Linked DNA regions of Homo sapiens: regions 2, 3 and 4 are each linked to region 1. The links are contacts of gene promoters, found by promoter capture Hi-C in blood cells and fetal thymus (Javierre and others, 2016). All regions are on one chromosome and are shown on one strand. The core of a region is centred on a gene start or on the middle of the fragment in contact, and the rest is flanking DNA. Distances in the headings are between cores, read along the strand shown. Region 1 holds the start of RPS15A (ribosomal protein S15a). Region 2 overlaps XYLT1 (xylosyltransferase 1). Region 3 holds the start of XYLT1 (xylosyltransferase 1). Region 4 has its middle 460 kb from the start of XYLT1.

Evidence for each region. The method cuts DNA at HindIII sites, captures the fragments that hold promoters and counts their contacts. A CHiCAGO score of 5 or more calls a contact.
Region 2: a contact is called between a fragment that was not itself captured here and the fragment with the promoter of RPS15A in region 1, in 1 of 17 cell types (M1 macrophages). The highest score is 5.5, in M1 macrophages.
Region 3: the fragment with the promoter of XYLT1 here is called in contact with the fragment with the promoter of RPS15A in region 1 in 1 of 17 cell types (total CD4 T cells); the score reaches 5.0 in total CD4 T cells.
Region 4: a contact is called between a fragment that was not itself captured here and the fragment with the promoter of RPS15A in region 1, in 1 of 17 cell types (total CD4 T cells). The highest score is 5.1, in total CD4 T cells.

What each region holds. Positions count from the first base shown.
Region 1 is chr16:18,788,543-18,791,628 of GRCh38, forward strand. RPS15A (ribosomal protein S15a) reads right to left here and starts at 1,792. Exons shown (of 5, transcript NM_001019.5): 1 at 1,702-1,792; 2 at 439-576. The coding sequence starts at 571. RefSeq lists enhancers at 745-1,462, 1,400-2,029. The HindIII fragment of the contact is 4,087 bases long and covers 1-3,086 here.
Region 2 is chr16:17,355,084-17,358,138 of GRCh38, forward strand. It overlaps XYLT1 (xylosyltransferase 1), which reads right to left. Exons shown (of 12, transcript NM_022166.4): 2 at 2,929-2,967. Among named protein-coding and RNA genes, the nearest start is that of XYLT1, 110 kb to the right of the region's middle. The HindIII fragment of the contact is 3,736 bases long and covers 1-3,055 here.
Region 3 is chr16:17,469,435-17,472,450 of GRCh38, forward strand. XYLT1 (xylosyltransferase 1) reads right to left here and starts at 1,526. Exons shown (of 12, transcript NM_022166.4): 1 at 1,000-1,526. The coding sequence starts at 1,362. LOC107987234 (a long non-coding RNA gene) reads right to left here and starts at 993. Exons shown (of 2, transcript XR_001752091.2): 1 at 1-993. It overlaps LOC105371106 (a long non-coding RNA gene), which reads right to left. Exons shown (of 3, transcript XR_933144.3): 3 at 1,573-2,670. RefSeq lists enhancers at 306-575, 696-745, 1,520-2,021. The HindIII fragment of the contact is 8,582 bases long and covers 1-2,395 here.
Region 4 is chr16:17,011,361-17,014,158 of GRCh38, forward strand. No RefSeq gene overlaps it. Among named protein-coding and RNA genes, the nearest start is that of XYLT1, 460 kb to the right of the region's middle. RefSeq lists enhancers at 2,303-2,447, 2,485-2,584 and a cis regulatory region at 2,367-2,384. The HindIII fragment of the contact is 228 bases long and covers 1,411-1,638 here.

The DNA.
Region 1 (3,086 bases), core at 542-3,041:
GCAGTGGCCGATCTCGGCTCACTGCAACCTCCACCTGCTGGGTTCAAACAATTCTCCCTGCCTCAGCCTCCAAAGAGCTGGGACTACAGGCGCCTGCCACCACGACCGGCTGATTTTTGTTTTTGTTTTTTGTTTTTTTAGTAGAGACGGGGTTTTGCCATGTTGGCCAGGCTGGTCTCGAAATGAGCTCAGGAGTCCTTTCAATGACTTAGATTCATTTAGCTCCCAAACACCTAGCAGAGCTCCTTTTTCCAGCAGTCCTACTCTAAGTGACTCTTCAGCAGTTTCAGACTATCCCCTCCTCCACAGCCCACAGGTCAATTGCATTCGTTCTCAGGTATGACAGACATACTTTGGTCCCCCATAATTAATTTCTACAGGACTGATTTCTTAGAGAGTCTCACATGAAAACATAAAACACAGCGGCAGCAGACTTACCATGCTTCATCATCACAGTGAGAAACCGGACGATGACTTTGGAGCACGGCCTAATAAGCACCTGGCGTTTGCCTCTCTTTTCGGCATTGTTGATACTCTTGAGAGCATCTGCCAGGACATTCATGCGCACCATTGTGGCTGTTCAAGGAAGACAAAACAGGAGGTTTTACTGGCATTGCCAACATCAACAGACACCAACCATTACACTGCGGAAGTATCCTTTCCTTTCTGGCCCCACCTTGGCGAAGTTTTCTCAAGTCTAAGCAGGCTGCTTCTCCATTTCCCACCACCCAGGAAAATTCCTATTTACTACGGTTGTTGAAAACAGGTTATCGGGACGTCAGCCTGCACATTTTGAAACTCATTCATTCACTAACCACTCTTCTTCGAATCGTGCCACACACCAACGTCTGGAGATAATAAAATGTGGGACAAAATCCACTTGACACAAGACAACGTGAGAACTGGCAGAAACTGCCAGCTACCGGAAGGAAAACATCGGGTATAGTCGATCAGTGATTCAGAACAGAAGCAGAGTATCATCGGCAACATTTTCCAAATTGCTGAAAATCAGCAGATTCCATACTATTAACATTGTACTTTAAATCAGTTCACTCTCACCTACAATGAACACATCTAACTATTAAACATCCATCTTCGTGCCATTTAAAATTGCGTCCAACAGCAAGAGCCACAGTGGCAAACAGAAACATTTTACATGCTTGTCAGACTGGACTCTCTTCTAATGGGCAAGAACCGCACACTACACTGAAGTTTTGAAAGACCAAAGTGCCAATAGTAAAGAGTAGAACTTAAATTCCTTAAGTTCAAAAGTGTCTAAAGAAAAACTCTGCGGCCCAGAAGATCCAAGTTGGCACCCAGCAAACTGCCAACCCCGGCACGATGCAGCTTTTACCTGCTGGGTGGCCTCAGCCTCCCAAGCTCCCAGCGCGGCCGCAGCAGTGAGAAGCTGCACGGCCCACCAGCCCCGATGTTGCCCGCCGCCCGGGGCCAAGGCGCTGCCTCAGCACTAAAGGGAGATCCAGACGCTGCGGCCCGAACCGGAGCTACCGCCTAGCTGGGCAGTCGAAGGCTCCGGCTCCCGCCCGCGCTGCGGCCTGCACCCCACGGACCGGGATCCCCTGAGTGCACAGTCTGGGGCGCCCAGCCATGGCTCTCCTCTATGCCTGTCCAGGAACCGGCAAGGCCAGGATCCTCGGCCAAGGTGGGGACCAGCCTCCTCGCAGGACACCGAGACCGAACCTTAGATTGCAGGATGGCGCCGATGGCAGACGGATGAAATTGGAGCTCTCAGAGAGTGCTACTCACCGGCGCGGAAAGATGGCGGAAAGAGGACGGGAGGGGAGAGCGCACGGAGTTATGGGAAGCGGGAGAGCTATCGCGAGACTTTCAAAGGCCCGGCAAAAACAAGGACCGCCTAGGAGAAGGACGAGGGTGAGGGAAAGGCGGAGCCTCCTCAGGGGTTGGCAGTTGAGAGTCGATGGAATCGACCTCCCCCGGTGGGGCCTGGGAGAGGCAAGGTGAGCCGTTCGTTGGAGGTTCGTCTACATTTTTTTTTTTTTTTTGAGACAGTTTCGCTCTTGTAGCCCAGACTGGAGTGCAGTGGCGTGATCTCGGCTCACTGCAACCTGCGCCTCCCGGGTTCAAGTGATTCTCCTGCCTCAGCCTCCTGAGTAGCTGGAACTACAGAGATGCGCCACCACGCCCGGCTAATTTTTGTATTTTTAGTAGAGACGAGGTTTCCCCAAGTTGGCGAAGATGTTCTTGATCTCCTGACCTTGCGATCCGCCCGCCTCGGCCTCCGAAAGTGCTGGGATTACAGGCGGGAGCCACCGCGCGGGCCTTAATTTTTATTTTAGTTTACTTTTGATAAGGAGTCTCGCTCTGTCGCCCAGGCTGGAGTCCAGTGGCGCGATCTTGGCGCACTGCAGCCTCCGCCTCCCGGGTTCAAGCGGTTCTCCTGCCCCAGCCTCCAGAGTACCTGGGATTACAGGCGCCCGCCATCACACCCGGCTAATTTTTGTATTTTTAGTAGAGACGGGGTTTCACCATGTTGGCCAGGCTCGTCTCAAACCCCTGACATCAAGTGATCTGCCCACCTCGGCCTCCCAAAGTGTTGGGATTACAGGCGTGAGCCACCACACCCGGCTAAAAATTTTTTTTTAATTAAAAAGTTAAGTTCAGACAAAAGTCACCCAACAGTTGTTTACTGAGCACCCATGTACCAGACGCTAGCAAGGCCCTGGGGTACGAGGTGCCCACACAGGCACCATTTAGCCAGTTCTGTCCCTGCCGGTTCTTCCAGCTTCGTCCTCTCTCACACGTCAATGCCCCTGCTCATTCGTTGCATTTCCTCTTCCCTCTAGCATGGTACCTGGATATTTGCTAAATAAAACTTAAACCTTTTATTTTTGTTCTTTTTTAAAATTTTTCCTAGACAGGGTCCTGCTCTGTTGCCCAGGCTAGAGTGCAGGGGTACACTCAGCTCAATGCAACCTCAAACTCATGGACTCCAGTGAACCTCCTGCCCAGGTCTCCCAAAGTGGTGGGATTACAGGTAGGGTACCTTATAGACATCTAAGGACCACACAGGGTACTTCATTAATCAGATTCATAAATCCAATCAT
Region 2 (3,055 bases), core at 257-2,756, 1.4 Mb before region 1:
ATGCTGAGAGTCTACCTTGTGCCATTGCTGGTTGCAGATGGAGGTTCAGGTCCCTTGGGCTAACAGATTGGACTTTAAGAGTCGCCACTGTGTAAGGAGCTGCTGCTGGAAGCCTCAGGTGCTGGCCAAAGCCACTGGTCTGCAACTCCTCTTTCCCATGAGGGTTTTGAAGGGCTGATGGGGTGGTGTCCAGAGTGAAGGATACAGGAAGGTCAAAGACAGAACCATCCAGGGATTCTGCTGTTCCACTCCCAGGAGATAAGATTTGACTTCCAGAGTTCCGGACACAGATGTTCGCCCATGGGTTTTCATAAGTTTAATAGGGTATCCTTCTGGGGAAGGATAAGGAAAAGAAGGACCATCATTTTAAAAACACACCGTGGAAGTTCTCTCATAGTCCCTGGGGTAGACTGGGTAGAGACACGTTTCCCAAAGGGTAGCACACACATCTCTGATAGGAAGTTTAGGTGACATCAGAGGGTGCGTACAGGAACAATATTTTCACAGTTTAATATCTATTTTAATGTTGTGCAAAAAAATATATAACTAGCCCTTCAAACTTGTGGTTCCATGAATATTATTGCTTGAGACAGTGTTTCTCAATCTCAACACCATTAGTATTTAGGGCTGGATCATTCTTTTTTGAGACCGAGTCTCACTCTGTCACCCAGGCTGGAGTGCAGTGGCTCAATCTTGGCTCACTGCAGCCTCTACCTCCTGGGTCCATGTGATTCTCCTGCCTCAGCCTCCCAAGTAGCTGGGATTACAGGCACATACTACCATGCCTGGCTATGTTTTGTATTTTTTTTCAGTAGAGATGGGGTTTCACCATGTTGGCCAGGCTGGTCTCGAACTCCTAGCCTCAAGTGATCTGCCTACCTCAGCCCCCCAAAGTGCTGGGATACAGGCGTTAGCCACCGTGCCAGGCCCAGGACCAGATAATTCTTTCCAGTGGGGAGCTGGCCTGTGTGTTGTAGGATATTTAACAGCAACCTGGGTCTCCACCTACTAGATGCCAGTTGTAAACCCCCCAACCAGATGAGACCACCACCAAATGTCTTCAGACGTTGCCAAATAACCACTGGGAATCAAAACCACCCCCCGGTTTAGAACCATTAGATTAAGGTAAGTCTATTTCTGAAAGCAAAGTGAGTTATGTTAAGGAAAAATGTATTTTTAGGTGACTTTATAGAATAGATGAAATTTACATAAGGCAAAGGTGGTCAAGGTGATAAGGACAGACAAAACCAAGCCAGAGGACAGCCAAACAGGCAGAGGAAACCGAATCCTTTTCCTCCTCAGAGCTGCACCTTCTATACTTCCCTGCCGGCCCTGGCGCCTGGTCAGCCCTGGGGCCCCCGTGGCTATACCTGTGTGCCAGAGAATGCAAGGACAGAAAAGCACAAGGAAACTGTGAAGATCTGCTGGCCTTCCCCATCAGGGAGGAAGCAAGGAAGGTCTCCTCATTCCTCTTAGGAGAACCCAAGCAGAGATGCCAAGGAGAGGGCAAGGACCCAAGGTGGAGGAGGCAAAGGCCAGGGGAGCAGGTGGTCTTTTCCAGTCCACCCCAGAAACCCTTGAAATCGCTGAGCTGTCATTCAGCCTTGAAACGTTCGAACAGGTTTGACTGTGTCTGACACTTGCAAGCTATTCACTGTGGGGCTCTGAACGAGGCCTGTCCTGTCTGCCTACTCTCTTTACTGTCAGCCAAACCCAAAGAGCTAAGGAAATGATTAATCCAAAGATAAGAAACGTCCCCTTCAGATCCAGCAGGAAAAGTAACAGTTCTATTGGTTTAAAAAGCTGCCACTTGCCGGACGCAGTGGCTCATGCCTGTAATCCCAGCACTTTGGGAGGCCAAGGTGAGCGGATCACAAGGTCAGGAGATCAAGACCATCCTGGCTAACACGGTGAAACCTCGTCTCTAGAAAAAATATTAAAAAATTAGCCGGGCGTGGCAGCGTGCGCCTGTAGTCCCAGCTGCTGGGGAGGCTGAGACAGAAGAATGGCGTGAACCCGGGAGGCAGAGCTTGCAGTAAGCCGAGATCATGCCACTGCACTCCAGCCTGGGCAACAGAGACTCGGTCTCAAAAAAAAAAAAAAAAAAAAAAAAAAACGCTACCACTCACAAGCACTTAGCACGTACCCCGGACTTTATAAACATCATTTCCTGTGACCCTCAACCACAACTCTGCAAGGTGGGCACTATCACTGGGATGACGTTTCAGATGCGAAGACACTGGCTTAGACATTATGTGGCCCCATGAACACTGCAGGGCTAGAAGACACAGAGGTGGAATTCCACCTGGCTCTGTTGAACTCCAAGGCCTATACTCATAGCTGCTGCACTGTCCTAGCTCCCAGGAAGGCAGAAAGCAGACAGTCAGGGCCGTGCCCTCCCTTACAAGACCCGCTGGTCATCCTCCTCCCCACACGGAAATGCCACTGCAATCACAATTCCTCAGAATGGCCTAACACGCAAGCAGATGAAAGGGTGCAACTTCCTTCCATATGCTGCCCTCACTGCCAAGGAATAAAAGTCCTCCAAGTTCAGGCATCAAAGAGTAGCATCTTCCCACTTCATGGCTCTCCTCTGTCTCCTCTCTCCTTTGCATGAACCTCCGCATGATGGTTGGGCAGGAGCGAAGGACAGACGAAAACTCAAAAGAAATGATTATGGTTCTCGCCACAGGTGGGAGGGGCACCAGACACCTGGGTGCGAATGTGCACCCATGCACACCCACACCATTGCACACACGTGTACACTATATGCCAGTGTGTATACATACATGTGCAGGCACACACACATCCAAATGGGACCAGGGGCAGCCATGGGCCTGTCCAGCCTTTCAGAGCCACGGGACAAGTCCCCTTGAGAGCTGGAATACTAAGGCTGAGATAAGTGGCCAAGACAGGAAAGATACTTACCTGAGTCTCCAGGGTGATGAGCGGACTTGGGTGTGGATCCTGTAGGATGAAAGGAGAAAATGCACGTGAGGAGTGAAAAAAAGTTAACTTACTACCCCAGCATCTTTTTCTTTCTTTCCTTTTTTTT
Region 3 (3,016 bases), core at 276-2,775, 1.3 Mb before region 1:
GGGGACTCCGGCCTCCTGCCCCATGTGCTCCTGCTCCTAGCTCAGTAGGCTGGGCAAGGCAGCCCAGAGAAGGTGGGAAAGGTATCCCTGGAGAAGTTAGGGACAGGGTAGGAAGACAAGTCAGTTCCCCACCCAGCCACCCAGATGGCCCCAGATCTGCGGAAAAAACAGTTTCAGAGCCCTGACTGTTCACACCCACGAAGGGCAAAGTAATCCCATAGGAGTGGAAGCCCTGACGGTGTGGTCGGACACACAGCTGGTGACCTGAACCGGCCGCAACAAGACAGAAAGACAGAGACAACCAGCTAGGAGAAGGAGCCATGCCCTGAAACTGGAGATGGGGAGGAGATAAAGTCACAGAGGGCATGGGAGACGGCAAGGTTAGAGACAGAGAAGGTGAAGACGGAAGGCTCAAACATCCAGAGAAGAGAAACAGAAGACCCAAAGTAAGACCAGACACCCCGGACTGAGTATTGATTCAGGGGCATGGTCGGGGACTTGGGACGCCCAGCTCAGCCCTCATCGCAGGCCAGGACGAACAGAGGGCTCAACTGTCTGCACCCAGCTCGGCAAAAACCAGAGAGATGCTGCTGCGACAACCGCCCAGGAACAGCGGCTGAGGATCCGGGGAGATCCACTCACTCAGGCAGGGAGCGAGTCACCAAGACCTACACGCACGGAGCAAGTCACCTGGGGTCCCCAGCAAGAGTGATGGGGAACAGGAACCCAGCCAGGCTCCGGTAACCCCCAAAGCGCCCCCGCTGGAGAAAACTTCCCCCAGACCCCAAGGGGTCCGTGCTCAGACTCTGAAAGGGGCAGCCCACGACCCCTGAGCCTTGGCAGGGACCCCACCCGGCTTCCCGGGGCAAGAGGCGATGTGGAGTCGGTAGGCTTGCAGAGTCCCAGTCTGATGACCGAGTTCAAGGGCTAGGGGGGCGTGGGGTCGGGCTGCCTTCCTCCCTCCCTCGCCGCGGGGCGCGAGCCGAAAGGGCATCTTACCAGAGCCCGGGCGGGCAGTGCCCCCCGGCTGGCCGGCTGCTGTCCCCGCGGTTCTCCGGGGCCGCCTCCCCGCGCCCGCGCCTGGGGCCCCCGTCCTCCTCCTCCTCCGCCGCCGCCTCCTCCTCCTCCTCGGGCTGCAGCCGGCTCGGCGGGCAGGTCCCGGCGCTCCCGGCGCGGGGCCGGGGCCGGGGGCGGCTGCTCCCCGCCGCCGACCGCTGCGCCCCCGCGGCGCTCCCCGGCCCCGGAGTCGAGGCTGCTGAAATTCCACACGACCAGCGTCTGCAGCAGCAGCACCGTGAGCGCCGCGAGCAGCGCCGAGTGCGAGCGCCGGGCCAGCCTCCGGGCGCACGGCGCCGCCACCATCTTCGGAGCGCGGCCGGCGAGCGAGGCGCGGGGACCCCGGCACGCTCCGGGCCGCCCCCGCGCTCCCCGCAGCTCCCGCGGCCGCCGGCTGCCGCTCGGGCTCCCGCTCGGGCCGCCGCCGCCGCCCCCCTCCCCACACCCCTGTCCCCGCTGGAGGGGAGGGTGATGGGGAAGGCGCCGGGGGGACGCGGGCCGAGGCGGAGAGGGCGGGGCCTGGGGGAGGAGCCGAGGGAGGAAAAGGAGGAGGGAAAGGAAGGGGGTGGGGGCGATCAGAGAAGACAGACACCCCTCAGGACGTAGTGGGAGTAGGATGGGGGGCGAGGGGGACAATTCCCAAGGCGGAAAAAGAGAGGCAGGGGCCGCGAAACAGGGGACCTTTGGTTGAGGGTGGGCCCGCTCAGAATCCAGGGGAGGTCAGGAAGAGAGGGGGTCCCGAGGTCCTGTTTTCCCTGTGGGCCGCTGGAAGGAGGCAGTGCGTGGAGGAAGCTCCTAGCCCCGGAGTTCGCGGTCCAGGGATCTTCTGTCGGTACCAGACCGGTTGGCAGGTGGACACGTGAGAAACATTTCAGGAGTGTCAGAGCCACAGTCTGATCCCTTCATCCTGGGCTTGAAGGGGTGGGGAGGAGGCTTTGGGTGAGTTTCTGGAGTTAATCAGCACAAGCTCTGTGAGTGACTCCTGAATCACACACAATCCCCGGTGCCAACGATGTACTAAGTGTTCACTGAGTCACTTCTCTGGTCCCTGAGGACTCACAAGCCAAGAGACTCCAAACCCAGTTGGCAAGTGGTATAGCGGCAAAAGGGAGACCCGTGGAGTTACTCAACCTTCGCAGGATGCAAGCCCCAAAGGCTGGCCCCGCAGCCTCCCAGCGTGTCCTTTTCCCCATCCATCCTGAAGTCCCCCTTCCTGTCTGCACAGGGCCCAGGTCCTGGGGAAACAGGTCTTGCTCTTGAAAGTGGAGTTCTTTCCCATCCTGACTGGTCTGTCCCGGTGACCTTGAGCCAGGAGGAGGAGGACTCCTCCCTGAGCCCAAGCTTTCTCCTCTGTCGTTTAGGCAGAATGATCCCAATGGACTCAAATTTCATCCCGAGCCTTCTCTGACTCAGTCTTTCTGGTTTTTCCCTCCCTTGTCCTCTTGCCCAGGGCTTTATACACAGCAGCGCAGAACAGTGAGCATATGGGATGGCGTTGGTGTCCCATACGGGACCTAGCACTCTGGGAATACAACAGCAGATCAAATCAGTTTGTGAATTGAGGACTTGGCGTGAATGCTTCGCATCTTGTCTGCTGTGCTTTTTCACCTCATCCTAATTTACAAAGAGAAGAAAGTGGAGTGTAATGAAGGCTCATCAGACAATGAGGCAGGGAGTGGGAAGAGATTGTTTCATCCACTCCACAAGCATCCGTGAATACAAAGCTTGTGTCAGACACTGGGCCAGGTGCACGCATCCAAAGGTGAATGAGGTTTAATCTCATCTTCAGCAAGCCTGAGGTCTAGAGAAGCCTGATGTGGATGTTAATCATTAAAATATAGTGAGATAGGCCTGGGCGCGGTGGCTCATGCCTGTAATCGCAGCACTTTGGGAGGCCAAGACAGGAGGATCACCTGAGGTCAGAAGTTCGAGATCAGCCTTGCCAACATGGTGAAACCCC
Region 4 (2,798 bases), core at 275-2,774, 1.8 Mb before region 1:
AGGTCTTATTTATTCTTTTTTTTTTTTGGAGACAGTCTCGCTCTGTCACCCAGGCTGGGGTGTAGTGGCATGATCTGGGCTCACTGTAGCCTCTGCCTCCTGAGTTCAAGCGATTCTTGTGCTTCAGCCTCCCAAGTAGCTGGGATTTCAGGCATGCACCACCACGTTTGGCTAATTTTTTATATTTTTAGTAGAGATGGGGTTTCGCCATGTTGTCCAGGCTGGTCTCAAACTCCTGAGCTCAGGCAATCTGCCCGCCGTGGCCTCCTGAAATGCTAGGATTATAGGCACGAACCACCATGCCTGGCCTTATTTATTTCTAGGTATTTCTTTGTTCTCATTAACATTCTCCCTGTCACCCCACTATTCTTTCCAGCCTCTGTTAACCATCCTTCTACTCTCTATCTCCATAAGTTCATTGTTTTTATTTTTAGATCCCACAAATAAATGAGAACATGCAGTTTGTCTTTCTGTGCCTGGCTTATTTCACTTAACATAATGACCTCCAGTTCCATCTATGTTGTTGCAAATGACAGGACCTCATTCTTTTTCATGGCTGAATAGTACTCCAAATGGAAAGTCTCTTTAGTGATCTTCTGACTCAGTCAATAAAATGCATCAATATTCCACTGGGTATGCATGCCTCTATTCTAGATTCTGGAGGTACTGGAGAAAACAAAACAGGCAAAACTGCCACCCTCATGGAGCATGAGTTCTGGTAGGAGAGACAGAAAAAAAATGCAAGAAAATACGCAATATTTCACGTGTTGATGAGAGCTATGGAGACAAAGGAGAAGGGAGAAGACCAAGGTGTTCTAATGAAGGATGATCAGGAAGGCTCGTGTTATAAGGTGACATTGTGCAGAGACGTGGGGGAAATGAGTGAATGTGTCTTGAGGCTGAGAGACAGCCGTCTGGCAAGTCCACAGGCCCCTAAGCAGAAACAAGCTTGGCGTGATGGAGGAATCACAAGGGGCTGTAATGGCTGGAGCAGAGCTTATCCTCCCAGTTGAGGAGGTAGGAAGTAGAGGTTGAGATTTTGGAGTCGAGCAGACCTGAGATATCTAATATACAATTTTAAGGCACTGGTGTTGCTGTGATAGAACCTTTCTGGGTCACCCCAAAGTACTGACAATGACAAATATATTGGGCAGGCGGTGTGGGGAATGTCAGAGAAAGAGGCTGAGTTTTTCTCTGGGTCCATGCAGTGCAGAGAGAAGAGAATAAATGTGAGACAGAGAGAAACGGGAGCAGGAACTTGGAGGTAGAAATAATCAAAAGAAACAGGAACCCTGAGGAATCTGCAAAAGTCTTGGCAAGATGTTCAACTCATAGGATGTGGGATATAAGCTCAGGCCAAATTTATTTAAAATGCAAAGGAAGAGGTGACCACAGCTTACCTCTGGGCCAAGCTTATTTAGTATACCAAATATTTGAAGAATCATTTCTTCTTAATTTGGTTTGTTCTTAGTAGATGCTCCCACTGGTTTAAACCTGAATTTCAAGCTGTTGTGTTTTTTTTAAACCTACACTAAATAATACACGGGTGGGTGAAAAGCAGAAGGAGGCTTTGTGAATGAGCTTTTTTAAATAGTGAGATTCCTTGGCATGCATAAAATGTTATTTGGGATAGAAGAAAGCTTGATTTATGAAAATCTTCCCTAGGCCACGTAGTGCAGAATCAGGGGACTCTGGCATCGCCGCCCGGCATGCAAATAAACGTTTCCAGCAGTTCTTTAGAGTATGCATTTCTTGTTTTTTTGGCTGCAGAAAGTATGGTGTCCAAAAATTAGGTAGGGTTTGCTTTGCATTCCAGTTGTCCGTGTTGCCAGAAAACAATGCCATCTGGATGTCATTCCTTCACCTAGAGTAAGGCGCTGTCACCATGCGTAAGCATTATAACATAATCTCTGGGTTACAGTCCTGGCTGGTCACTGACTAGCTTGGAAAGTTTACCACAAATCCTCTGAGTCTCACTTCTCCCTACTGTAAAGGCAGGATAATTATTAATTTGAGAACACGTTTGGTTGTACTGAGGATCCAATAAGAGAATATTTGGCAGAAAAATCTGGCCAATGGTAAATGGTATTCAGTAAATAAACACATTTTGGTCGTCAGCAGAGAGCTACCTGGATTTTATTTTATTTCCTTCCTTTTTTTTTTATCGTAGAGAAAAATGACAGGGATTCACTTTCTAAGAAATTACACTATGTTCAATGACTTCCCATCAAGAGTAGGCAATGTTCCGTATCCTGCCATTGGTAAGTATCAAATGGGCCCGTGTCAGACAAGTCATGGCTTTTAATCTCCCTTTATTGGCCACGTCACCTGTCAGTGACCTTGACTGTTGCCGGCTGCCTCATGTTCTGCAGTTTCCTGATAAGTGTGTTTCCGGCTTTTGAAGTTATGTCTGCCGAAAACCACATCTGGTTCACCGCCGCCTCAACAGACACACAATGAAATACAAAAGGCTAATTCTGCTGTGTACGCAATCCATGTTTCTTTCCCCAGAGGATTCCAGATGGAGTGAACTCAGTAGAGGCGGTGCTTCGACGGCTGATGATCTTGCGGAGAGGAGAGAGGAGCATTAGTTACGGTTTTAAGTCCCGGCTGAACTGGCAGGGGTTACATGACCTCAGACTCAGGGGTAAGTGCGCAAGCTCTCGCCCCTGGAAGGGCTGTGATGCCTTTCAACAGCCACACCTCTCCGTTGAACCCATCAACACCCTTTGTGCAGAGGTGGGTTGAGATTTCTCAGATGAAGTAACATTTCCTACTCTAGTAGTCTCAATTGGTAA